Regions from separate parts of the Homo sapiens genome. Here all the other regions are linked to region 2. The links are contacts of gene promoters, found by promoter capture Hi-C in human tissues and cell types (Jung and others, 2019). All regions are on one chromosome and are shown on one strand. Each heading gives the region's core, a stretch centred on a gene start or on the middle of the fragment in contact. The rest is flanking DNA. Distances are from core to core; before and after follow the strand shown.

Region 1 (6,414 bases), core at 3,734-6,233, 530 kb before region 2:
ACCTCTGTAATCCCAGCACTTTGGGAGGCTGAGGTGGGCAGATCACTTGAGGTCAGGAGATCGACACCAGCGTGGTGAATATGGTGAAACCCGTCGCTACTAAATATACAAAAATTAGCCAGGCATGGTGGCACGTGCCTGTAGTCTCAGCTACTTGGAGGCTGAAGCAGAATTGCTTGAACCCGGGAGGCGGAGGTTGCAGTAAGCCGAGATCATGCCACTGCACTCCAGCCTGGGCGACAGAGTGAGATTCTGTCTCAAAATTTTAAAAAATTAAAAAAAAAAATTGTGCTTCTCAGTGGCCCTGCTCCTGTGGCTGCAATATGGAGGAAGAGTACAAAGGGTGGGTACAAAGACTGGCCTCTGTCTTGCTGTTGGGAAATCCAGCTGCCACGTTGTGAGCTTGTGTCTGGAATTGGTTCCTTCTGGTGGGTTCTTGGCGTCGCTGACTTCAAGAATGAAGCCATGCACCCTCGCAGTGAGTGTCACAGTTCTTAAAGATGGTGTGCCTGGAGTTTGTTCCTTCAGATGTTCAGATGTATCTGGAATTTCTTCCTTCTGGTGGGTTTGTAGTCTATGCTGAGTTCAGGAGTGAAGCCACAGACCTTCGCGGTGAGTGTTACAGCTCATAAAGATAATGTGGACCTATAGAATGTGCAACAGCAAAATTTATTGCAAAGAGCAAAAGAACAAGGCTTCCACAGCATGGAAGGCGCCCTGAGCCAGTTGCAGCTGCTGGCTAGGGTGGCCTGCTTTTATTTCCTTATTTGGTCCCACCCACATCCTGCTGATTGATCCATTTTACAGATAGCTGATTGGTCCATTTTACAGAGTGCTGATTGGTCTGTTTTACAGAGTCTGATTGGTCCGTTTTTACAGAGAGCTGATTGGTGCGTTTACAAATCTTTACCTAGACACAGAGCGCTGATTGGCGTGCTTACAATCCTTTAGCTAGACACAGAGCGCTGATTGGTGCATTTACAATCCTTTAGCTAGACAGAAAAGTTCTCCAAGTCCCCTACCTGATTAGCTAGACACAGAGCACTGATTGGTGTGTTTACAAACCTTTAGCTAGACACAGAGTGCTGATTGGTGCATTTACAATCCTTTAGGTAGACAGAAAAGTTCTCCAAGTCCTCACCGGCCCAGAGGCCCAGCCATCTTCACCTCTCAAGCTGTCTGTAGAGGTCCACGTGTCAAGAAAACTGAGGACAGAGGCCCTCAGTCCAGTTCCCACAAGCAACTGCATCTCCCCAACAGCTGCCTGAATGAGTTTGGAAGCAGTCCTCCCACCATTCAGCCTTCAGATGAAACTGCACCCCTGGCTGACAGGCTGATTGCAGCCTTATAGCAGACCTTAAGCCTGAGACATTCGACCCACAGAAAAGGTGATAATTTTGGTCTTTTTTTTTCTAAACAGGTTCTTGCTCTAGAGTGCAGTGGCACGATCATGGCTCACTGCGGCCTCTACATCCTGGGTTCAAGTGGTCCTCCCACCTCAACCTCCTGAGTGGCTGGGACTACAGGTTTGTACCACCATGCACAGCTAGTTTTTCTCTTTTTTTCTTCTTTTTGTAGGTACAAGGGTCTCCCTGTGTTACTTAGGCTGGTCTCAAATTCTTAGGCTCTAGCAATCCTCCTGTCTCAGCCTCCCAAAGTGTTGGGATTACAGGCATGAGCCACTGCACTGGGGCAATGTTGGTCTTAGGCTAATTATGCAGCAGGAGATACATGCACTGTGCTTTGGGAATTGAAGTCACTTCTATTTCTTTGTGGCTTCATCAGTAATATGGGGCAGGGGGCACGGTTCCCACAGCTGATTCTTGAGTGTTCTTTCTGAGTATCCTTAATACTTCACACACTATCATATATCTGAACTTTGTTCATTGATTATCTCCCCTTTAATTTTCATTCCTTGATGAATCTCCAGGGTCTGGATTAAGTCCTAGGATACTTTATGTACTCATGAAATCTTCAATGAATGAAGAAATGATTTTTTTTTTTTTTGAGACAGAGTCTCACTCTGTCACCCAGGCTGGAGTGCAGTGGCATGATCTTGGCTCATTGCAACCTCCACCTCCCAGGTTCAAGCAATTCTTCTGCCTCAGCCTCCTGAGTAGCTGGGACTACAGGCATGCGCCACCATGCCTGGCTCATTTTTGTATTTTTCAGTAGTGACAGGGTTTCACCATATTGGCCAGGCTGGTCTTGAACTCCTGACCTCAGGTGATCCACCCACCTCAGCCTCCCAAAGTGCTGGGATTACAGGTGTGAGCCACTGCATCCGGCGGATTTTTTTTTTTTTTTTTTTGAGACAGGGTCTCACTCTCTCGTTCAGGCTGGAGTGCAGTGGCGTGATCTTGGCTCACTGCAGCCTCCACCTCCCAGTTTCAAGTGATTCTGGTTCGGCCTCCCAAGTAGCTGGGACTACAGGTGTGTGCCACCATGCCTGTCTAATTTTTGTATTTTCACCACGTTGGCCAGGCTGGTCTCAAAACTCCTGACCTCAAGTGATCCGCCTGCCTCAGCCTCCCAAAGTGCTGGGATTACAAGAGTGAGCCACCATGTCTGGCCTGAATGAAGAAATAATTTTTTAAAGAGTGTTTTAAAGTGGGGCCGGGTGCGGTGGCTCACACCTGTAATCCCCACACTTTTGGAGGCCAAGGTGGGTGGGTCACTTGAGGTCAGGAGTTTGACACCAGCCTGACCAACATGGTGAAACCCCATCTCTACTAAAAATACAAAATTAGCTGGGCATGGTGGCAGATGCCTGTAATCCCCGCTACTTGGGAGGCTGAGGCAGGAGAATCACTTGAACCCGGGAGGGGGAGGTCACAGTGAGCTAAGATCGTGCCATTGCACTCCAGCTTGGGTGACAAGAGCGAAACAATGTCTCAAAAAAAAAAAAAAAAAAAAAGAAATTGCATTTCAAAGCCAGGTGCAGTGGCTCACACTTATAGTCACAGCTACTTAGGAGGCTGCGGTGGGAGAATAGCTTGAGCCCAGTTGTTCAAGGCTGAGTGAGCTGTGATTGTGGCACTGCACTCTAGTCTGGGTGACAGAGTGAGACCCTGCCTGTAAAAAAAAAAAAATCTTTCAGGCCAGACGCGGTGACTCACTCCTATAATCCCAGCACTTTGGAACGCCGAGGCGGGTGGATCACCTGAGGTGGGGAGTTCGAGACCAGCCTGGCCAACATGGACAAACCCTGTCTCTACTAAAAATACAAAAATAGCCGGGCATGGTGGCACATGCCTGTAATCCCAGCTACTCGGGAGGCTGAGGCAGGAGAATTGCTTGAACTCGGGAGGTGGAGGTTGCAGTGAGCTGAGATTGTACCACTGCAATATGAGACTCCATCTCAAAGAAAAAAAAGAAAAAAAAAAAAAGATAGCATAGCAATGGCTGTGGGCCTGGATACAAGTCTTAGCCTCTCCACTTCTCCACTTCCTGGCTCTGTAAGCCTTAGACAAGTTCCTTAACTCCACACTTCCATTTCCATGTAACAAGGGGTTATAGGCCAGGCATTGGTGGCTCATGCCTGTAATCCCAGTGCTTTGGGAGGCCAAGGCGGGAGGATACTTGGGGACAAGAGTTCAAGACCAGCCCAGGCAGCACAGTAAGACATTGGCTCTAGAAAAATAAAAATAAAAGAAATCATCCAAGAATGGTGACTTGCCTACTATTCTACTCGAGAGGCTGAGAGGGGAGGATTTCTTGAGCCCAGGAGTTTGAGGATGCAGTGAGCTATGATCACATCACTGTACTTCAGCCTGAGCAACAGCAAGATCCTGTCTCAAAAAATTAAATTAGGCTGGGCTTGGTGGCTCATGCCTGTAATCCCAGCACTTTGGAAGGCCATGGTGGGCAGATTGCTTGAGCCCAGGAGTTTGAGACGAGGCTGGGCAACATGACGAAACCCCGGCTCTACCAAAAAATACAAAAAATTAACTGGGCATAATGGTACATGTCTGTGGTCCCAGCTACTCGGTAGGCTGAGGTGGGAGGAATGCTTGAGCCCAGGAAATAGGGGCTACAGTGAACCAGGATCATGCCAGTGCACTCCAACCTGGGCAACAGAGCAAGACTCTACCTCAAAATAATTATTTAAAAAAATGGATTAATTGGGCATAGGTGGCTTGTGCCTGTAGTCCCAGTTACTCAGGAGGCTGAGGTGGGAGGATTGCCTGAGTCTAGGAGGTTGAGGCTGCAGTGAGCCGGGATGGCACCATTGCACTCCACCTGGGCAACAGGGTGAGACCCTGTCTCAAAAAAGAAAAAAAAGGGAGGGGTTATAATCACTCCTCCTGACATGATACAGAGTATCCATTTGAGTTCATAACATAAATATGTACTTGGTGAATGCTCTGTAACTATTGGCTTTTTTATTGTTCCCATTTTACATATAAGGAAGCTGAGGCTTTGTGAGGAGAAATAGCTTAGCCCAGGTCATCCAGTGGGAAGCGTCTGGTGCAGAGGAATAGTGATCATGGTGGGACTTTGCCTAGCCTAAGGTTCAGCATACAATATTCAGTCAGTACTCAAGGGCTGGGCTGTTTCTGGTAATCAAAGGGCTGCCTTGTTCTCCTGCCCCACAGCACAGGAAATTCCAAGGTGGTTTTCTTTACAGGCTCCTCCGCTTCTGTGGCCAGAGGGGACAGCGGAGGAGCCCAGGTACCTAAGCCAACTCAAGAGAAGATGGAATTGAATATTTCAACCACCTTATCTAGGCCTCTGTGATTGTTGAGGAGGGGGCTGTCACTGGGAAAGTTGTGAGCTGCTTTGGACCTTATCTGGGAATTTCCTTGGGCTTACAGCCTTTACCCTATCCTTGAAATGGTTCTGGTTTCATAGCAACTTCTAGGTGGTGTGGGCGAAGTTTGGGACTGGTTTAGGGCGGGGACAAGACCAAGAACACAAGTTTCCTTGTACTACGGGAGAGAGGGAGGGGAGGAAATTGGAGACCCCAGCACCCCCTTGCTCACTCTCTTGCTCACAGTCCACGATGGCCCGGTCCCTGGTGTGCCTTGGTGTCATCATCTTGCTGTCTGCCTTCTCCGGACCTGGTGTCAGGGGTGGTCCTATGCCCAAGCTGGCTGACCGGAAGCTGTGTGCGGACCAGGAGTGCAGCCGTAAGAATGGGGAGGGGAGAATTGGGGGCTTGGGCGTTAGCCTGTGTGGAGGGTGCTGCATTCCCTTCTATTCCTTCCCTAGACCCTATCTCCATGGCTGTGGCCCTTCAGGACTACATGGCCCCCGACTGCCGATTCCTGACCATTCACCGGGGCCAAGTGGTGTATGTCTTCTCCAAGCTGAAGGGCCGTGGGCGGCTCTTCTGGGGAGGCAGCGTGAGTCTTGGGAGAGTGAAAGAGGGAAGGGTACAGAGCTGGGGTAGACTCATTATCCCCATGAAGGGAAGATTTGAGGGGGGTGAACTGAAATAGACATTGTGGGGGGATATTGTTACTTACTTTATTTTATTTGCTTATTATTTTTTAATTTTTTCCGAGACAGAGTCTTGCTCTGTCACCCAGGCTGGAGTGCAATGGCACGATCTCGGCTCACTGTAACCTCCACCTCTTGGGTTTAAGCGATTCTCCTGCCTCAGCCTCCCAAGTACCTGGGATTACAGGCATGCACCACCACACCTGGCTAATTTTTGTATTTTTAGTAGAGACAGGGTTTTACCATATTGGCCAGGCTGGTCTTGAACTCCTGACCTCATGATCTGCCCGCCTTGGCCTCCCGGAGTGCTGGGATTACAGGTGTGAGCCACTGCCCCCCAGCCTATTTTCACTTTATTTACCAATTTTAGGACCTGATATGGTCCCACGTTCTGTTCTAGACACCAAGATACAACAACAAATGATCCTTTTTATTCTAATGGAGGGAAATGAACAAAAAGCAAGGCATAAAAAATAGCAGCAGCCGGGCACAGTAGCTCACACCTGTAATCCCAAGTAAGGCCAAGTTGGGAGGATAGCTTGAGCCCAGGAGTTCGAGACCAGCCTGGGCAACATAGCAAGACCCCCATCTCTATAAAAAAAAATTTAAAATTAACTGGGCTTCATGGCATGTGTCTGTGGTCCCGGCTACTCGGGAGGCTGAGGTGGGAGGATTGCTTGATCCCAGAAGTTGAGGCTGCAGTGAGCCGTGATCATGCTACTGCACCTCAACCTGGGCGACACAATGAGACCCTGTTTCCAAAATAATAATAATAATAAAAGCAAATATGCGCTGCTGTGAGAATTAACAGAGACTTACTTGGGTGTTCAGAAAGGGCCTCTGAACAGGTGGCATTTAAGCTGAGATTCATATGACAAGGATGGAGCAGTTATGTGGAGATCAGGGAGAAGGGAGAATGCAAAGGCCTTCAGCAGGCACAAGCTTGCCATCTTCCCAGACCCTAGCTTT
Region 2 (6,363 bases), core at 370-2,869:
GGGTAGGGCATCAGAACGTGAGAAGGAACCAAGGTTGGTGGCTAAAAGGGACCCTAGAATGCGCCAGAGAGGAGGTGGCAGGGCCTTTAGTCTGGAAAGTCCCCTTCCCTTCATGTCCATATGCTGGGCTACAGCGCCCTCTGCTGGCCTCTCCTGGTAATGCCTAGGAATCTGGGTTGGTAAATAGGGACCTCCTTGGCTTTCTTCCACAACTCCAGACCTCAAGGGAATGCAAATGGGGAAGCTCTTCCTCTGTTCTCAGCCAGTTTTTCTCACACGTCTCATCTCCAGTCCCTTGATGCCCACTCCCTTCAGAATAAAGGAGGTCAAGCCACTTACTATGGCTTATGAGGCCCTGCATGGCCTAGCACCTGGTAACATCGCTGGCGCCCTCTCTTTCTGCTCCCCCTTTGAATATCAAATCAGTGTTTATTTTGTTCTGAGGAGCCATAAGTCCTTTTTGGAACCCACAAATGATGCCATGAACCACTGCATTGGAGAATACAGAGGTACATGGAATTTTGCATAAAAATTCATGAGGTTCTCAAAACCTCCACAGCCCAATCATGGCTTTCAAGTTAGAGCTCCTTTCCTATGCCCTGACCGTAGTGAAGTGCTTGCAGCAACCAGAACCGTCCGTACGTGCCATCCTCCTCAAGACTCTTCCCTACCTTCCTCTTAACCCAGCTCCTACTCGTTCTTCAGGTCTTAGCTTGAGGGTACCCTCCCAGAAAGAAGGCTTCCTTGACCCTCCAGCCTGGGGTGGACAGCTCCCTCAGCCCTCTGGATCCATCAAAGCCCTGGCCACTGAGTGACATGTCTGTCTACTCTGCTGGTAACACCTAAATAGAGCCCCACCCATCCCATAGGGAAATAAGGACCAGAGTTGTCTTGTTTCACACCTGTAGATTTCCTCCAGGTCCTGGGAACACAAAATGGGAAGTTCTATCTCACTATCCATCTCATGCCAGCCAGAGACAGGGTATGATGACGGAAGTAAGCCAGGCTGGTGGCTCACGCGCGTAATCCCAGCATTTTGAGAGGCTGAAGCGGGAGGATTGCTTGAGGCCAGGAGTTGGGGACTAGCCTGGGCAACAAAGTGGGACCCCTGGCTCTACAAAAAAATTTTAAAAATTAGCCGGGCGCGGTTGTGCGCGCCTGTAGTCCCAAGTACTCCAAAGGCTGAGGCAGGAGGATCACTTGAGCACAGGAATGTGAGGTTACTTGAACTGTGATCGCGCCACTGCATTCGTCTAGGCGACAAAGCGAGACCCTGTCTCAAAAAAAAAAAAAAAAAAAAGAGTCAAGGCTTAGTAATATTCCTGAATTCCTGAAGGAGTTAAGAAAGGAAAAGGACAAGCGGGGGTCTAAACGAGAGCACGAACCCTCAGCGTATGACGGCTCCAGGCTCCGGGGGAAAGTCCTTTAGCCATCCATCCCAAAATTAAGCACGCTGGGAGCTGGAGTCACAGCAGTGATAAAACGAACAATGATTCTGGTTCCTACTGACTGACAGGAGAGGTTTAAGGGTCTCTCACTCTCCGGGGAGCCCCTTTCCTTCCTGGCTGCGGAGGGCGGAGCCCGAGAGAGGCACGCATGCGCAATGCAACGTCTGCCTTAGGCCCGGAACTTCGGTGCCTGGGCGCAGCGGTGCACCCGGACCCGGAACATTCTCAGGCGAAAGTGTCTCTTGCGTGCGTGGGCCGGAGGTTAGTGTGCGGGGCCCGCCGGGCGGTTGAAAAGTCCGAGAGAATCAGGATGGAGGCCGTGGCGACGGCGACGGCGGCGAAGGAACCCGATAAGGGTGAGATCTTGGTCACGCGCAGGCGGCGGGTGGGTGCGGTTGCGGTGTCTCTAGGAAATGATTCCCCCAGGAACGCGAAGTAGGACTCGTTTTAGGGGGACACCCACCCCCCTCAGCTTTACCGGTCCTCTTCACTACTTTGCCCAGATTATTCCCTCCCTTGTCGCGGGCTGACCTTCTTTTCCTCCATTCCTTCCCCCCGAAATTAACCTCTTCCCAGTTCCAGACCAATCCTTTCCATGTCCCTAATTCATTTCCTTACCAGGCTAACTCTCAAATTAACAGAAACCTCTCTACCCCGGCCTAATTCCTGCATTGCCTCAGACCAGCCCTTCTCAAATTACCTCCTTCCCTGTACCAAGCTGAGCCTTCCCTTGCTCTCTAGACGAATCCTCCTACCTTTCCAGGCTAAACTTCTACCTGCCTCATGCAAACTTATCCCAATCTAACGATTCCTTCATTTCATTGTAACTCCCGTTTCCCCCAAAGTCCGAAATCCAGCCAGGCTCCTTTCAAAGTCCTTACTCAATTTCTGTGCTTTCCCACAACCTTCAAAGTAATCCGACGTCGGGTGAGGTGTGATTGGAAGCGTGGCTCCAACACCACTGGCCAAGAATTGGTAATTGTGGAAGCCAGATGGAGATGATTGGTATATGGAGGTAGGGGGAGAATTGTCGTTGTACTTTCTACTTTTGTGTATGTTTGAAATTTTCTAAAAATAAAAAATTTAACCTAAAAAAAGTCTTAAGGCCGGGTGCAGTGGCTCCCGCTTGTAATCCCAACACTTTGGGAGGCCAAGGCAGGAGAGTTGCTTGAGCCCAAGAGTTTGAGACCAGCCTGGGCAAGAGAGAGAAACCTGATCTCTATAAACATTTAAAAATTAGCCAGGCCTGGTGGCTAGGGAGTAGCTAGGACAAGCTACTCAGGAGACTAAGGTGGGAGTGTCACTCGAATCCTTTGAGATTGCAGTGACCTAAGATTATTACACCACTGCACTCCAGCCTCTGCAGCAGAGTGAGACTTGAGCCCAGGAGTTTGAGACCAGCACTGGCAACATAGCCAGACCCCATCTCTACAAAAAATTTAAAAATTAAGGCCGGGCCCGGTGGCTTACACCTGTAATCGCAGCACTTTGGAAGGCGGAGGCAGGAAGATCACCTCAGGTCAGGAGTTGGAGACCAGCCTAGCCAACATAGCGAAACCCCATCTCTACTAAAAATACAAATATTAGCCAGGCGTCGTGGTATGTGCCTGTAATCCCAGCTACTCGGGAGGCTGAGGCACCAACTGGAATCACTTGAACCCGGGAGGCGGAGGTTGCAGTGAGCAGAGATCGCACCACTGTACTCCAGTCTGGGTAACAGAGCAAAACTCTGTCTCAAAAAAAAAAAAATTAGCCAGGTTTGATGGTGCATTCCTGTGGTCCCGGCTACTCAGGAGTCTGAGGCGGGAGGATCACTTGAGCCCAGGAGGTCAAAGCTGCAGTGAGCTGTGTTTGCACTATTGCATTGCAGTCTGAGCAACAGAGCAAGACCCTGTTTCAAAAAAAAGAAAAAAAATTTGTCTCTTGGCCCCATCTGTCTCCTTCAGAGAGTCATGTATACTTGGTCTTCATTTCCTCGTCTCCTGCTCACGACTGTCTGACTTTTCTCCTAAGAAACTGCTCTGATTAGGGTCTGCACTGACTTCCCCCATGTTGTTCAATTCAGTCCCCCCATTCAGGTTTTTGTTTGTTTGTTTGTTTTTTGAGAGAGTCTCACTCTGTTGCCCAGGCTGGAGTGCAGTGGCATGATCTCAGCTCACTGCAACCTCCACCTCCCAGGTTCAAGTGATTCCCGTGCCTCAGCCTCCCAAGTAGCTGGGATCACAGGTGCCCGCCACTATGCCTGTCTAATTTTGTATATTTTTAGTAGAGATGGGGTTTCACCATGTTGGCCAGGCTGGCCTCGAACTTCTGACCTCAAGAGATCCTCCTGCCTCAGCCTCCCATAGTGCTGGGATTACAGGTGTGAGCCACCACACTTGGCCCATTCAGGTTTTTTTTCTTACTAGACTGGACTAGAATTAAATGCTGTTGATCCTTCCATCCTTTTTGCATGTTTTCCTTTGGCTTCAGCGACACCACAGTGCCTGATTTCCTGCCTGTCTCTCAGGCTGCTCCTTCTCAGCCTGACTTTGTTTCCCAGGGGTGCTGTAACAAAGTACTACAAACTGCATGGCTTCAAACAACAGAACTTTATTCTCTCATAGTTCTCAAGGCCAGAAGGCTGAAGTCAGTGTTGCTGAACTGAAATCCAGGTGTCTGCAGGGTCGTGCTTCCCCACAGGCTCTGGGAGAAAACCCATTTCTTGCCTCTTCCAGCCAGTGGTGGTTTCTGGAATTCCTTGGCATGTGGCTACATCACTCCAATCTCTGCTTCCCCTTTTGACGTTGCCTTCTTTTTTTTTAAGACGGAGTCTCGCTCTGTTGACCAGGCTGGAGTACGTGATCTCGGTTCACTGCAACCTCTGCCTCCGGAGTTCAAACAATTCTCCTACCTCAGCCTCCTGAGTACCTGGGACTACAGGAGTGCGCCACCACACCTGGCTAATTTTTTGTATTTTTGGTAGAGCGCCATGTTGGCCAAGCTGGTCTTGAGCTCCTGACCTGAAGTGATTCTCTCACCTTGGCCTCCCAAAGTGCTGGGATTACAGGGGTGAGCCATTGCAACCGGCCTCTTTTTTTTTAAGATAACAGTAATGGGCTCCAGGGATTACGATGTAGCTATCTTTTGCACAGCCAGTTTTTAGCTTCAGAGGCATGTCCTCCCCGCATCTGTGCAGTGCTTTTTCCTGGACCCTCTTGTCATCCCTCTCCCACTCCCCTGTGCCCTCCCCAGTCCCTACCTCTCATTTCTCTTGGCTTTGGTTCTTGTCTTGATTCTGATGACACCCACAGCTCTGTCTCCAGCCCAACATTTCTCTCCTGAGGAGTCTGGAGGCCCGTGTAGCAGCAGTCGGACCATTCCCCTGGATGCCTCCCTTACTTCCAGCACGTCAGCCCTGTGGCTCCTCCACTCAGCCTCCTGACATCTTTCTGATTCGCTCACTCATGATCCTGTTCCTTCCTCCACAGCCCCTGCCCTTGTCCAGCTCAGTCTTCAGCTGCATCAGTGATTTAAATCCTCCCTGATACACACAACACATGTATGTCACCTGTGACTTCTTTCCTCCCCAACCCAGCCACGCTGCTTAAAGTTGTCTCTATATTCTGTTTTCACGTATTTCCTGCTTGCCGCAGGCTTGCTCCCTCCACTCTTGGGAAACAAGTCTCACCAAGGTTTGCCCAGCGCTCCGCTTTCCTGTTTTCTTTCCATTTTTTTGAGACAGAGTCTTCACTCTGTCACCCAGGCTGGAGTGCAATGGCTGATCTCGGCTCACTGCAACCTCTGCCTCATGGGTTCAAGCGATTCTTGTGCCTCTGCTTCCTGAGTAGCAGGGATTACAGGTGCCCACCACCATGCCCAGCTGATTTTTGTATTTTTAATAGAGAGAGGGTTTCACCATGTTGGCCAGGCTGGTCTTGAATTTGTGGCCTCAAGTGATCTGCCCACCTCGGCCTCCCAAAGTGCTGGATTACAGGCATGAGCCATGGTGCCCAGCCAGCTTTCCTGTTTTCTTTGCCCATATTATTGTTGATCCTGACTGTCTCCCACATCAGACTGGGTGCTCCCTGAGGGCAGGAGCTGGACTGGATTCATCCTATGGATCCTCAGCATTGCCTGACTTAGGGCCTCTCAGAGATTTAGTGTTTTTTTTTCTTTTTTTTTTTTTAGAGTTTTGCTCTTGTTGCCCAGACTGGAGTGCAATGGCACGATCTTGGCTCACCGCAACCTCTGCCTCCCAGGTTCAAGCTATTCTCCTGCCTCAGCCTCCCGAGTAGCTGGGATTACAGGCATGTGCCACAATGGCTGATTTTGTATTTTTAGTAGAGACGGGGTTTCTCCCAGTTGGTCAGGCTGGTCTTGAAATCCCGACCTCAGGTGATCCACCTGCCACAGCCTCCCAAAGTGCTGGGATTACAGGCGCAAGCCACCGCGCCCGGCCTAAGATTTAGAGTTATTAAAGAGTGGTTGGGTGAACGCATGAATGCATGAGAGAGTGAATGAATGAGTAAACAAATTAGCAAATGTATTAACGATTTAAAGAATTGAGTGGATCAATAAGTCAGGCCTCAGGGCCTTTGCAGTAGTTGTTGCCTCTGCCTGGAATTCTCTTTTCCAAGAGACCTCATGGCTTAATCCCTCACCACCTGAGGTCTCTAATCAAATGTCACTTTTTTGGCAAAGCCTTCTCTGAGCCTTCCATTTAAAATTGCAGCCTTGGCCAGGCATGGTGGTTTACACTGTAATCTCAGCACTTTGGAAGCCTGAGGCAGGAGGATCACTTGAGGCCAGGAGTTCAAGACCAGCCTGGGCAACACAGCAAGACCCTGTCTCTACCAAAAAAAATTAAAATTAGGCCGGGTCCAGTGGTGCACGCCTGTAATTCCAGCACTTTGGAAGATCGAGGTGGGAGGAT
Region 3 (6,980 bases), core at 30-2,529, 900 kb before region 2:
CCCTTCTGGCCCTCTTTCCCTGGTGACTGCCACCAACTTCACTTGGGAACCCTGCCTGCTCAGAGCCTCAGCTTTCCCCCGCCACCAGCGTGATCTCTCATAGCAATGGGGGTCAGGGGTTGGGCTGACTCATCCAGACCTCTAAACATTATCTGAGGCCACCTAGGGGGTCAGGGGGAGTTAAGGCAGTGGCCTCTGGCTGCCTCGGTTAGTCCCTGCTCCAGCACTTCCCAGGTGTGAGGACTTGGGCAAGATCCTTCATCTCTGGGGCCTCAGTTTCTCCATCTGTAAAATGGAGCCAATAAGAAAGGCTTTGAAGATTTGTGAGAGAACAGCAGGTGCTTAGAATATCCCTCCTGTATAGTAAATGCTTGATTAATATAAACTCGTCTCTGACAGCAACAGGGAGAGTATGGAGGGAGGGAGCTGTGCTTCTCACAGTGTTGCACATCCAACCTTTGCTCCTCAGTGGCCCCCACTTTCTCTGCTACCAAAGGGGAGCTTTGGCTGAGAGACAAAACCCAGCTCAGGCACCAGCCTCCCAACAGGATCCATGCTGCCTCCCTAGCACCCTACTCCAGGGACCCACCCCAGGCCTCCTGCCCCAGCTCTGGTGTTTGTTAGTTTGTTTTTTGGAGACAGGGTCTCCCTCTGTCACTGAGACTGGAGTGCAGAGGTGTGATCACGGCTCACTGCAGCCCCAACCTCCTGGGCCCAACCCAATCTCCCATCTCAGCCTCCAGAGTAGCTGGAACCACAGGCATGCACCACCATGCCCAGCTAATTAAAAAAAATTTTTTTTTGTTTTGTAGAGATGGGGGCCTCTCTATGTGGCCCAGGCTGGTCTCGAACTCCTGGGCTTAAGCAGTCCTGCCGCCTCAGCCTCCCAAAGTGCTGGGATTATAGGCATGAGCCACCATGCCTGGCTGCCCTAGCTCTTTAAAAGCAGCAACTCATTTACTCGGCACCAGCCCTGTGAGGTGGCCTCCAGACATCAGCCCATTTTAGAGATGGGGAAACAGAGGCACAAAGGATGAAGTATCTTGCCCAAGGCTGCACAGCCAGAAAGGAGAGGAAAGGGGATTTGAACCACCAGCTCCAAAGTCTATACCTTTAACACCTACACCACACGGCTTCCTGAGCCCCCAGGCCCCCTCCCAGCACCTCCCGGGACCCTGAACCTCATTCCCACAGTGTCTCAGCCTGGCCAGGGAAGGGACCGGCCGGCTGATCTCTTACCGCTGAGCCTCCAGACACCTCGAGAGCTCCTGGTCCCGTCTGTCAGCCCTAGCCCTAGGCTGGGGGGGAAAAGGAATGGGGAGGGGGGAGGAGAGAGAGACCCCAGCCATTGGCTGCGGGGGTGTGACGTCACCAGAGGGTGGGTGGTGGAGAAACAAACATCCCCCTCCTCCAGCTACATCTATCCCCAAGGGGTGGGGGCCACGGGACAGCCACCAGCCGCCTCTCTCTTGCCTGGGCCGAGATCTCTGCCATGAGCTCAGCTTCAAGGATTTGCACGTTGGCTTCCTCGACTTGGAGAATCAGGACCCCACCCCAGCCCCACTGTTTCCTGGCTCCAGGACCCGGGCCTGGCCAACTGCCTCTACTGTAAACTCCTTTCACTCCCTCTCCCTGTCAACTTGGGTTCAAATCGCAGCGCGACCACTTCCTCGCTGGGTGACCTGCTGCCAGTCACAGCTTCTCTTTGCGGATAGTAAGAGTACCCACCTTATGGGGCTGTGGTGAAGATTAAACGAGTTAAAAGAGACTGAAAATGTAAGACAATGCCGGGCACATAATGAGGGTTACTAATAAGTATTTGGTATTATTTTTCACACAAATTAGGTGGCTGGCTCATCTTGCTGGGGGGTTTTGGCCCCTTTTCAGTAAGGCTGGGCACAGGGGACCCCCAGTTCTCTGTCTAATGGAGTTACTGTTTAGGGGGACACCTATCACATACTAAGTACCATGCTCAGTGCTGAAGCCCTGCTTTTGAATCAAGGGTGTAAAATGGGCTCCTTATGCTCCCCACCCTTTTTTTTGAGACAAGGTCTCACTCTGTTGCCCAGGCTGGAGTGCAGTGGTGTGATCATGGCTCACTGCAGCCTCCACCTCCTGGGCTCAAGCAATCCTCCCGACTGAGCCCCCTCAAATAGCTGGGACCACAGGTATGCATCATCATGCCCAGCTAATTTTTGTATTTTTTGTAATGGCAAAGTTTCACCATGTTGCCCAGGCTGGTCTCGAACTCCTGGGCTCAAGCGATCTTCCCACTTCGGCCTCCCAAAGTTCTGGGATTACAGGCGTGAGCCACCGCGTCCAGCTATGCCCAATTTATAGCTATGTGGCCAGGAGGTGGTGAAGCTGAGGTCCAACCCCTGTTCTCCTGGACCACAAAAACCCTGCTACACTCTTCTGCCCCTTCCACTTTGCAGACCAGAAGGCTCAGAGAAGGTAAGTGACTCTCCCAATATCACCATAGCAGGTCATTGGCAGGGGTCCAGAGTTGAACCCAGACCTGCCCGACTCCCAAGCCAAAGCTACCAGGCCTCACCCCCAACCCCTGGACCCTGGTCCAGCCCCCAGCCTGCCCTGACTCACCAGACCCCGGGGGGCGGCACAGGGAGCACAGGTACCCCCACATGCCACTTGAACCCACCCGGCTGCTGCCTCGGAAGCTCGTCGCTCTCTGAACCCAGGCCCCAGGCCTGGGCTGGGCTGAGGCTGGGGGATTACCCCCAAAGCGCATGTCAGCAGCTTCTGCCCCATTGTCCAGCCAGGCACAGACACCAAGCCCTGGCCTCTGTCGGCACCCTCGCCCCTCACACCAGCCTGGGTGGCCCCTCTGCAGACCTGTCCCCCATCTCACACCAGAGGGTTGGGGCCTACTTCAGAGGGCGTGGGGGACCAGGCCAGGATGGCAGGATCCCGGAATGCTGGGGGCCTCCCTCCCTTCTCTCTGAAATGCCCCCTGCCCACTCTCAGCCACCGGGGAAGGCAGGAATGTGCTGAGCTCTGGGAAATGCCTTCCAGGCCTGGCAGCAACCAAGCATTGGGGTGTGGCCAGAAGCCAGCCAGAGCCCTCCTCCCAGGAGGGGTAGAAGGGATGGTATGGTCGGGGCTCCCGATGGGCCTGAGGAGACCCTCACTTCATTGCAGTCTCTCTCCTTCATTGATTCACGCAAACATTCTTTTGTTCCTATATTCATTCAACAAACACTCACAAGCCCTGTTTAGTGGTAGGTCTTTTGCTGGGCACAGGGGACATCAACAGATCTAACTCCACCCCAGGGAGGAGGCGGCAAACTCAGGAAAGGATCCTGCAGGAGGTGATATCGGCAGTCAAACTGAATTAGCCAGGCGTGGTGGCGGGCACCTGTGATCCCAGCTACTCGGGAGGCTGAGCAGGAGAATTGCTTAAACCCAGGAGGCAGAGGTTACAGTGAGGCAAGATTGCGCCATTGCACTCCAGCCTGGGTGACAGAGCGAGACTCTGTCTCAAAAAGAAAATAATAATAAATAATAAAAGGAAGTCAAAATGGAAGATTGAGGAGGAGGGAGCTAAGGAAAAAAGGAGGGAAGGGGGTTCCAGGCAGAGGGACAAATGTGGGCAAAGGACCAGAGGTGAGAAATGGAGCGGGTCTTCATTCACCATCAGCAAACATTCAGTGAGCACCTGGTCTTCTGTCCAGTCCCAGGCTGGATGGTGCTGGGGACACAGTGTGACTGGGACAGCTCAGGCCTGCATCCACACCATTCACAGTCCAGCAGGGAACAAACCCAGAAAGAGGAGGGTTGTGATGGGGCAATCATAGGCAGAGAGGTCAAAGCCTTGATGGGGAAGTCCAGAAAAGGTGGCTGCCCCAGCCTAGGAAGAGAAATCAAGGAGGGCTTCCTGGAGGAAGTGGCATTTGAGCTTGCACCTGGAGGATATATAGAAGTTAACCCAAAGCCATGGGTGGTGAAGGAATGACAGTGTGTTTCAGGTAGCGGGAACACCCTGTGCAAAGGCCCTTTGAGAAAACGGTTAAGGTGAGAGTGTGAGGGAAAGGTAAGAGGAGGTCCAGGGGTCAGCAGGGCCATGAGGAGGGCCTCAGACTTTGTCCTGTGGGCCCTGAAGAGCTATCAGAGGGACAAAGTATGAATAGCACTGAGCTTTTAGGTACCTGAAGGCAGAAAGAGGCTGAGCTATCAGCCAGGCTAGCATAGGGAAGAAAATCCCCCTCTCTCTGCTCAGGGTCAAACAGAAAAGGGAGGCTGGTACACAACATCCCCTCTCTTCCCTTGTCGCAGAGAGCAGAGATCTTTGCTTGTTCTCAGTCTTAGGGGAAAGCATTTAACCTTTTGCCATAAAGTAGGAAGTTAGCGGTCCATGTTTTGTAGATACGCTTTATCAGGTTAAGGAAGCTTCTTTCCCTAGTTTGCTGTGAGTTTTTTGTTTTCTTGTTTTTGAGAGATGCGGGTCTCACTATGTTGCCCAGGCTGGCCTCAAACTCCTGGCCTCAAGCGATCCTCCTGCCTTGGCCTCCCAAAGTGCTGACATTACAGGCATGAGCCACTGTGCCTGGCCTGCTGTGAGTTATTTTCTTTCTTTTTTTTAATTTTTCTTTTGTTTTTTTTTTTTTAGGCAGAGTTTTCGCTCTTTCACCCAGGCTGGAGCAAAGTGGCACAATCTCGGCTCACTGCAACCTTCGCCCCCTGGGTTCAAGAGATTCTCCTGCCTCAGCCTCCCGAGTAGCTGGGATTACAGGCGCCTACCACCACACCCAGCTAATTTTTGTATTTTACACTTGATCTTAGCCAAAAGGCCAAGAAGCAATAATTTTGTATTTTTAGCAGAGATGGGGGTTTCGCCATGTTGGCCAGGCTGGTCTTGAACTCCTGACCTCAGGTAATCCACCCGCCTTGGCCTCTCAAACTGTTGCGGTTACAGGCATGAGTCACCACACCTGGACTGTTGTGAATTCTTATCACGAATGGTGTGTCTCTCTGTGTGTCTCTATCTTTGTGTCTCTCTGTTCTTCTGTTTCTCTCTGTCCTTATTCTTTGTCTCTCTTTCCTAGTTTCTTTCTGTCTCATTCTGTCTGTGCGTTTCTCTCTCCCTCTCTCTCTGTCATGCTTTCCCTCACCCAAGGGGGTGTGGCCACGGGAAGCTAAGTTGGGGGTGGCCCCAGTGTCCTGGTTCCGGCTGTGGCCACCGCAGTAAACACAGGACATCCTGTGAGGCTAGGGAAGGAGGTGGACGCTTCTTCTCAGGGACCACCCTCTCCAGACTCAGTCTGAGCCAAGCAGGAGCCTTGGCCTGCCCTGCGTGGCCTAGCCACTCCGCCCCACCCAGTCCAGCCAAGGGACACTGGTGTCTCCCTCGATCCCACCGTTCACGCCCACCCCCACACCCCAGTCCTCTCTCCTGAGCTCCCGGCCCAGGGCCCGGGCAGCTCCATGCCTTCCCCTGGGTGTCTCCCCAGCCTCTTGCACCCCCTGGGTCCCTCCTTGGCCTCAGCCCCAACCCCAGACTTGCTTCTCTCCCCAGTTGCCATCTCAGGGATGGCCCCAGTGTCTCCCAGTCCCCTGATTAGAGCCCTGAGCCTGGTCTGAGACCCCTCCTCCAGGCCTTGTCAGTCCCACAGCCTGTCTGCTGGGCCTCCTGAGTGCCTCTTCCCTCCCAACAGCTGCTCCGTCCCTCCCCAGATTCTCCACCCCTGGGATCCTGGGCTCCTGGCCTCCAGTGTCACCTCCCCGACGATGCCACCCACCTAGTGAAGGGATCCTTTTACTTCATGACTCCCCAGCATCTTCAGAGTTAAGTCCCCCATCCAGGGTCCTATATGCCCTGGCCCCTGCGGACCCTTCCAGTCTTGTCATTTACCTTACTGCTTTCCTCCTCCTTCCAGCCAAACCCAGCAGCTTAGAGATCCCTGAAAATGTTGTAGGGTCTCTCTCTCAGTGACCCTTGCTGTTTCCTTGCCCACCAGAACAATAGTTCTTTGGGGCAGATACTGTTACTGTTCCAGTTTACAGGTGAGGACCCCGAGGCTCAGAGAAGTTAAGTACCTTGCCTAGAGTCACACAGCCACAGAGCGGTAACTCTTTTTTCTTTTCTTTTCTTTTCTTTTCTTTTCTTTCTTCCTTTCTTTTCTTTCTTTCTTCCTTTCTTTCTTTTCTTTCTTCCTTTCTTTCTTTCCCTTCCTTCCTTTTTTCTTCTCTCTCTTTCCTTTCTTTCTTCCTTCCTTCCTCTCTCTCCCTTCCTTCCCTCCCTCCTTCCTTCCCTCCTGCCTTCCTTCCTTCCGTCCTTCCTTCTTTCTTTCTGACAGGGTCTTGTTCTGTCACCCAGGCTGGAGTGCAGTGGTGCAATCATGGCTCATTGCAGCCTCAAACTCCTGGCCTCAAGTGATCTTCTCACCTCAACCTCCTGAGTAGCTGGGACTACAGGCGTGAGCCGTCGCATCTGGCCAAAGCTGGGGTTCAAACCCAGGCAGTCTGGCTTTCAGGAACAGTCTCTTCTCTCCAGCTTACTGCTTCAATAATATCTCTGTTAGATTTCTAAAGTGTGCCGGGACTGCATACCATAGGTGCTCAATAAGTGTTTTTTAATTTTGTTTGGTTTGGTTTTTTTGAGATGGAGTCTCGCTCTGTCGCCAGGCTGGAGTGCAGCAGCACAATCTCGGCTCACTGCAACCTCCGCCTCCCGGGTTCAAGTGATTCTCCTGCCTCAGCCTCCTGAGTAGCTGGGATTACAGGCCCGCCACCTTGCCCAGATAATTTTTGTATTTTTAGTAGAAATGGGGTTTCACCATGTTGGCCAGGATGGTCTCAATCTCTTGACCTTGTGATCCACCTGCCTCGGCCTCCCAAAATGCTGGGATTACAGGCGTGAACCACCATGCCCGGCCACTCAATAAGTGTCTAATGAATAGGGACAGAGGTAGAAGGTGAGCCTTGGAAAGTACAGAATTCAGACCCCAGAGAAGTGGGGTAAT
Region 4 (6,468 bases), core at 2,728-5,227, 540 kb after region 2:
GGTGTAGGCCCAGGAGTTCAAGCTTATGGTGAGCCATGATCACACCGCCACTGCACTCCAGCCTAGGTGACAGAGCAAGAGCCTGTCTCAAAAAAAAAAAAGACACTAGTGATTTCCCATAATCCTCACAGTAGCCCTGGGAGGAAAAACTGGCAAGGATTTTTACTTTACTGAAAACAAAATAAGTCAAGACACAGCTTAATGGCCCAGCAGGCTCTCAGATTCCCAGATCAAAACATGGCAAAATCCTGCCCCTCTTTCAATGTGTGCATGTCTGTTCATCTGTTTAACCACCCTGGCATCTTCTCTCCTTGTTTCTAGACACTCAACTCTGATACTCCAGCCCTGTGGCACCCCAGACCCTCTTCAGCTACAGCCACAGGTCCTGGGAAAGAAGTGGGATCTAGGGCCCTGGGAGGAGGTTGAGCCTGGGGAAGGAAAAAGCAGGAAACTGAAGGAAGCAGGGGCTGAGGAACACTTAGAGGGTGGGCAGAAGCGGGGGTTCCCAGTCTGCTTGTCTCCCTTTCCCTTGCAGGCCTCTGGAGCCTCGTGCCTGGCCCGGACATCTGGCCCCTCAGAGTGGCAGCTGCAGCAAGAGGCAGCTGAAGCCCTCGTGGGGCTGAAAGATTCATCCCAGGCTCCTCGTGTGACCCCTTCTGTGCCCCCCAACCCTGCCTGGATCTCCCTGCTTCACCCCTGTGGCCCACCAGGTGGGCCATGAAAGGAGAGGATGGATAGGGATGGCTGGGAAATGGAGATCACTGAAGTACACAGGGACTAACCAAGGAGATGAGGGGGTCGACAGGTTGAACGTCTTCAGGCCCAGGACCCCAAGCTCCTCAGCCTGGCCCCTGGGATTGCAGTTGAGAGTTATTCAGTGAATCCTTTTTATCAGTTTGGCACTCGACAGCAAATTTCTTGATATCAAGGAAAGTGGGGCACTGAGAAAGGCAGGGACTTGCCCAAGGGCATATAGTGAGACAGTGGCAGGGAACCCAATGCTCTGTCTCTGGACCCAGGCTGCCTGCTGAAGTCTGAAGTGGGGTCTGGCCTGGGAGGAGGTCTGATAAGTGCCTTCAAGGAGCTTACGTTCTAGTTAGGGAAATTGGATGCCTTCACAAGGCTCAGTGACAAACCTGAAGAAGATTGGAGGAACCTTGAAGAGTGAGAAACACCTAGGGGGACAGACAGGGAAAGCTGCGAATTCTCTTGTCCAAATAGTGGATTGGGCAGACTGGCCTGGAGGAAATGCTAGAACAGAGGGAAAGGAGGCTGGAGAGGCTTCTGATGGTGGAGATCTGGCATGCCAGGCTTAGGTGTCTAGAACAGCAACTGTATGTGAAGGGGAGCCAGGGAACGTTTCTGAACTAAGCAAGGACAAATTCAGAGACCCTGAGCTTTAGAAAGACAAGTGGGTGGCTTTGATGGACGGTTTGGAGGAGGCAAGACTGGAGGTGGGAAAATTAGCAAGGAGGTCTGTGAAATAATCCAGGAGAACAATGATGAGGCCTGGATTGGATTCGGTAAAAAGAGGGGGTTGCTAGAAGGAAAAACAGGTGTGACCTGATCCTGCCCCTTCCTTCTTGCCTGTAGCTCCTGCTGGAGGAAGAGGATTCCAGCCTGTTGGCCCCTGTCTTCGACCCAGCCCAGCCCCCTCTGTTGCTCTGCATATTGGCCGTCTGGGGTCCATCTCCCTCCTGAGCTAGAAACCCAGAGATGGAGGCTGTCTTGCTATGGCAGGGAGGTGACAGCCTGCTGGCACTGTATATTTAGTGTCTTACTTAAGGATTTATGCATGGAATTTAATGTAGTACAAGCTTCGGGCTTTTTTGTTTGTTTGTTTGTTTGTTTGTTTAAGCTTTCAGGTGCTTCATTAGCTTTCAGTTCCTTTGGTAGTGTGGGCATTTCCTTGGCTGACAGTGGATATTCTTGTACCCTTCTTGGGTCCTGGGATCTCTTGAAATCCCCAATAAAGAGAGAGTTGTGCTATTTAAGCTGACCAGTATCTATAAACGTGTTTGCATGAGTTTACATCCCAGGATTCCATGATTCTGTAAATGCCTATGCATTCATGTCTGTCTCCATGCATGTGAAAACAGGAGAGTGTTTTCATTTTGTGTCTAGGTTTGTGTGAGTAAGCAAGAAATAAACCTTTGTTGTTGTAAGCCACTGAGATTTGGAGAGTGTTACCACAGCCTAACCTAGTCTATCCTGACTGACAGAAAGGACTTGTTCATTTCGCTTCTCAAAGTGAAAAATCTGTTATCCAATAGCTACCATAGATGAAAACAAACTTGGATTTTTTTCTTTGTCCAAATAAAAAAAAATGATGTAAAGAAATAATGGGGGATTCACTGATTAATTGCCCGCTCTGTGCCAGGCATAGACAGTTTCCAGCTGTCTAGAGGGGCTACAAATCGAAATGCCTACAGGGCTGAGCAGATCAAATAAATGAGTAAAGAAGGCCAGATGGACCCTGGCAAACTGAGAATGGATGCCTTGCCTAAGGAGCAGCCTCCTTTTGGCCCTAGCAGATTACTGCCAGGCGGGAATGTGGACTCAGTGTTGCTCCATCTTCTGATTTTTTAAGAGAAACTGGAAAACTAGATTTCCATGTAAAACATCTTAATTTTCAAATGTTGGCTCAGTTTTCTTCTTTAAATTCTATACGTGCCAAATAAAACATATTTTCAGGCTAGCTTTGGCCAGTGGAATACCAATTTGATACATTTTCCAGATGGGGAAATTGAGGCTAACCAGAATAGAAAGAATCGAGTTAGTCTTTATCACAAGTTTTTCCTCAACTAGGGAGGTTCACGTGTCTGAGTTTCGAAGGATCCATAAAAGGTTAAGAAACATTTATTACCATTTATTGAGTGCCCACTCCATTTGATTCACATATCTTCACAGCAACCCTGGAAGTTATGCAGGATGGTTCCCATTTTACAAGTGAAGAAACAAGCTTAAAGAGGTAAAGTAACTTGCCCAAGTGTTTTAGGGGAAATTTCTAGGCAGAGATCAGAGGAGGGTTCCTTCTCTTTGCCAGGCTCCAAATTAGTTAATAATGTTTATAAAGCATTGGGCCGGGTGTGATAGCTCACACCTGTAATCCCAGCACTTTGGGAGGCCAAGGCAGGAGGATCGCTTGAGCCCAGGAGTTTGAGACCAGCCTGAGTAACACGGGGAGACCCTGTCTCTATAAAAACAAATAAATAAAAGCATAGAATGAAAGATGCACCACTCCTTTCCCCAATCAGGACTCCAGAAGATACATACAAGTCAAGAGTTTTTCAAAAAAGTCTTTTATTTTTCTCCTCAAGATATCATTAAGAATAAGATCTTACCTGCATTTGTTTCTCAGTCCTCTGGTGTCAAGTCCTTCTCCTTGAACCATTCCGTACATAGGAAAACCTGTTGAGCTATTCCAAAGACATGAAGCCTGGAGACCCCCTTCCCATTCCCACCCTTAGAAGGGGCTCAAGGGATGTGCTTGATCACTGATTCTTTTTCCTGATGTTACCTACACCCCTTGTTTTACTCAAGATGATTGATGGTGATGACATCCAATTACAACTTGTTATTTCTTATTTGGGATTTTGAGAGGGTGGGTTTCTTCTCCTCCCTAGCAGAGTACAGAGTAACAAACCTGCAGCACTTCTCAGGAGATACTGAGATATCAGGAGACCAAAGTCGGCTTCACACCCTTCTTCCCTCCCCTTAGCTATAACTTAGATATATGATTGCTCCTTAATAGACCTGCCTAAGACTTGGTGTGCCATGCTTTCCTAGTGACAGATGACCAGGGCCACAAAGTCACAGAGAAAGGAAGCACTGCAACATGCAACATGGCTGAGATTCTGCTACTCAGCACTGACCAAGGGTCCTCTGTACACCAAGGTCACAGAGCTGAGAAGGGTAAAAGAGAAAGTATAATTTGGGGTTAAAGGATGGCATGAAAAGGGGAGGAAAAGAGGAAGTGATGGAGATTGGGGGAAGGAGTAGACTAGAGGCCACCTCTCCTTCACCTCTCCTCCAGTACCCGGCCTTCAGTACCCAGCCTGGGCAAGGCTTTTCACACCAGTTGGCCAGGCCAACTTTGTCTTTCAAATCGTTAGGGCCCCCCATTAGTGCCTGAGGGAAAGGGCCAGAGCTTCTGCAGATGTCAGTCTTAGGGAAAAGAGCAGATTTAAGAGTTGCTCATGCTCCTAAGTTGTTGCCTGTTCAGGTGCAGCACTCTTCACCTGTGGTTGTAGGGAGCCAGTAGGCTCCTGGCCTCTTCTTGGCTCTGAGAGATTACAGATAATAGACTGTGAGCACTGTTTCCTATACTGCCCCCTTTCCCACTTCCCAGTGCCAGGTAGGGAAAGGTATTGCCATGGTCCAATAAAGTACTGAGTAAATCATCTCCCTTCTAAACCTTCTTTGTGTACCCTCTTGGCACTCTGCAGACTTAACCAATGAGGTCCCAACTATGAAGCACCGTCCCTGTTCCTCTCTCTCCTCACAAGACTCCTCCCCACAGTCACCCAGGTTTTATTTCAGGAGCTTATTTCACATTCTGCCCTTTGGGAATCCATGCTCCTTTCGCTTCAGCCCTACATTAACTTGCTCCACTCCTGACCTCAATTCTCGTCCAACGTAGAACTGACATCATACACTTATCCCATCCAGCCTATACGCAGACCCTCATTGCTTCGTCCACATAGGCCTCATTCTGCACCCCTGTTCCATTGTGTAGCTGGCTTTGCAGCCCTGACACGTTTGCATAAATACAGTCCTATAACCCCTACCCTGCATGGGCCTTCACAAGATCCTGAACTCTTCACAAAACCAAAGTTCATCCTTTTCATCCAACTCAAAATAATATGTTAAGCCTCTCAGGCAGAGTTCCCTATGTTCCCAAGGGGCCACTGGTCTCTACTTCATAGTCCTGATCACCCTGAGCTGTGCCTATCTATGTCCATCTATGTCTCCCCCTCAGAGAATAAGCACTCTCAGAGCACAGGACTTGCCTGCAGCTCCTCCTTGGGAGCTCAGAATAAATGACTGAGTAAAATACGTTCTGTCTGATTCCTTAGGAATTGTTTTTTCCTACTGAGTTAACACACTCCAATGCTGCCCCTCTCCTCATCAAAATGTGAACTTTCTGACCTCAAACCATTTTTTCTAAGACAGCCTCTGTCACCCAAGCTGGAGTACAGTGGCACAGTCATGGCTCACGGCAGCCTCAACCTCCCAGGCTCAAGTGACCCTCCAGCCTCAGCCTCCTGAGTAGCTGGGACTACAGGCATACACCTCCATGTGAGACTAATTTTTATTTTTTGTAGAGACAGTGTCTCACTATGTTGCCCAGGCTGGTCTTGAATGTCTGAGCTCAACCGATCCTCCTGTCTCAGCCTCCCAAAGTGCTGGGATTAGAGTTGTTTTGTTTGTATGTGTGTATTTTTGTTTCTTATTATTTTGGGATTAGAGTTGTGAGCCACCGTACCCAGCAAAAAAACCTTCAGGGGCCAGATACAGTGGCTCACACCTCTGATCTCGGAACTTTGGGAGGCCAAGGTGGGAGGATTGCTTGAGCTCAGGAGTTCGGGACCAGCCTGGGCAACATGGCAAAACCCCCTTTCTGCAAAAAATACAAAATTTAGCCAGGCATGGTGGCGTGCACCTGTAGTCCCAGCTACTCAGGAGGCTGAGGTGGGAGAATAGCTTGAGCCCAGGAGGTCAAGGCTGCAGTGAGCCATGATTACACCACTGCACTCCAGCCTGGGTGACAGAGCAAGACTGTCTCATATATATGTGTGTGTGTATATACATGCAACACACATATATACACACATATACATATACATATGTATGTATATATATATATATTATATATGTTCATAGCAAAATTTAGTGGAAAGTACAGAATTCCCATAGTCCCCTTGCCAACACACAGGGATGGCCTCCCTTTTGTATCAACATTCCACACCAGAGTGGTACCTTTGCTACAATCAAGGAACACCGTATTATCACCCAAAGTCTGCAGTTTACATCAGTGTTCACTCTTGTTGTATGTTCTGCAAGTTTTGGCAAATGTGTAATGACACGTATCCACCATTACAGTTTCATAGAGAATAGTTTCATTGCCCTAAACAACACCCATTCATCCCTCCATCCCTCCAAGCCGACAACCAATTATCATTTTATCATTTTATTGTCATCACAATTTTGCCTTTTTCCAGAATGTCATATAGTTGGAATCATACATTTGGATTGGCTTCTTTCAGTTAGTAAGGCATTTAAGGTTCCACCATATCTTTCTTTTGGCGGGGTGGAGGGGAGGGGGAGGCAGACAGGGTCCTGCTGCGGAGTGCAGTGGTGCTGGAACGCAGTGCACTTGGCTCACTGCAACCTCCGCCTCCCAGGTTCAAGCGATTCTCATGCCTCATCTTCCTGAGTAGCTGGGATTACAGGCGTGCACCACCA

The links. The method cuts DNA at HindIII sites, captures the fragments that hold promoters and counts their contacts. A contact is called where the count stands out against the background at its distance.
Region 1: a contact is called between the fragment with the promoter of MIA here and the fragment with the promoter of CCDC97 in region 2, in 1 of the 25 tissues and cell types used here (dorsolateral prefrontal cortex).
Region 3: the fragment with the promoter of PRX here is called in contact with the fragment with the promoter of CCDC97 in region 2 in 1 of the 25 tissues and cell types used here (small bowel).
Region 4: a fragment that was not itself captured here is called in contact with the fragment with the promoter of CCDC97 in region 2 in 1 of the 25 tissues and cell types used here (dorsolateral prefrontal cortex).

Annotation. Positions count from the first base shown.
Region 1 is chr19:40,770,538-40,776,951 of GRCh38, forward strand. It overlaps MIA (MIA SH3 domain containing), which reads left to right and starts at 4,984. Exons shown (of 4, transcript NM_006533.4): 1 at 4,984-5,132; 2 at 5,215-5,348. The coding sequence starts at 5,006. It overlaps MIA-RAB4B (MIA-RAB4B readthrough (NMD candidate)), which reads left to right and starts at 5,000. Exons shown (of 10, transcript NR_037775.1): 1 at 5,000-5,132; 2 at 5,215-5,348. The HindIII fragment of the contact is 14,863 bases long and covers 1-6,414 here.
Region 2 is chr19:41,308,553-41,314,915 of GRCh38, forward strand. CCDC97 (coiled-coil domain containing 97) reads left to right here and starts at 1,620. Exons shown (of 5, transcript NM_052848.3): 1 at 1,620-1,804. The coding sequence starts at 1,759. It overlaps LOC105372401 (a long non-coding RNA gene), which reads right to left and starts at 1,497. Exons shown (of 2, transcript XR_935968.4): 1 at 1,386-1,497; 2 at 1-1,273. RefSeq lists enhancers at 213-392, 1,666-1,955. The HindIII fragment of the contact is 30,341 bases long and covers 1-6,363 here.
Region 3 is chr19:40,412,099-40,419,078 of GRCh38, forward strand. PRX (periaxin) reads right to left here and starts at 1,280. Exons shown (of 7, transcript NM_181882.3): 1 at 1,240-1,280. RefSeq lists an enhancer at 2,090-2,738. The HindIII fragment of the contact is 14,641 bases long and covers 1-6,980 here.
Region 4 is chr19:41,849,991-41,856,458 of GRCh38, forward strand. It overlaps DMRTC2 (DMRT like family C2), which reads left to right. Exons shown (of 9, transcript NM_001040283.3): 7 at 322-382; 8 at 536-710; 9 at 1,594-2,343. The coding sequence ends at 1,706. Among named protein-coding and RNA genes, the nearest start is that of RPS19, 7.0 kb to the right of the region's middle. The HindIII fragment of the contact is 8,258 bases long and covers 1-6,468 here.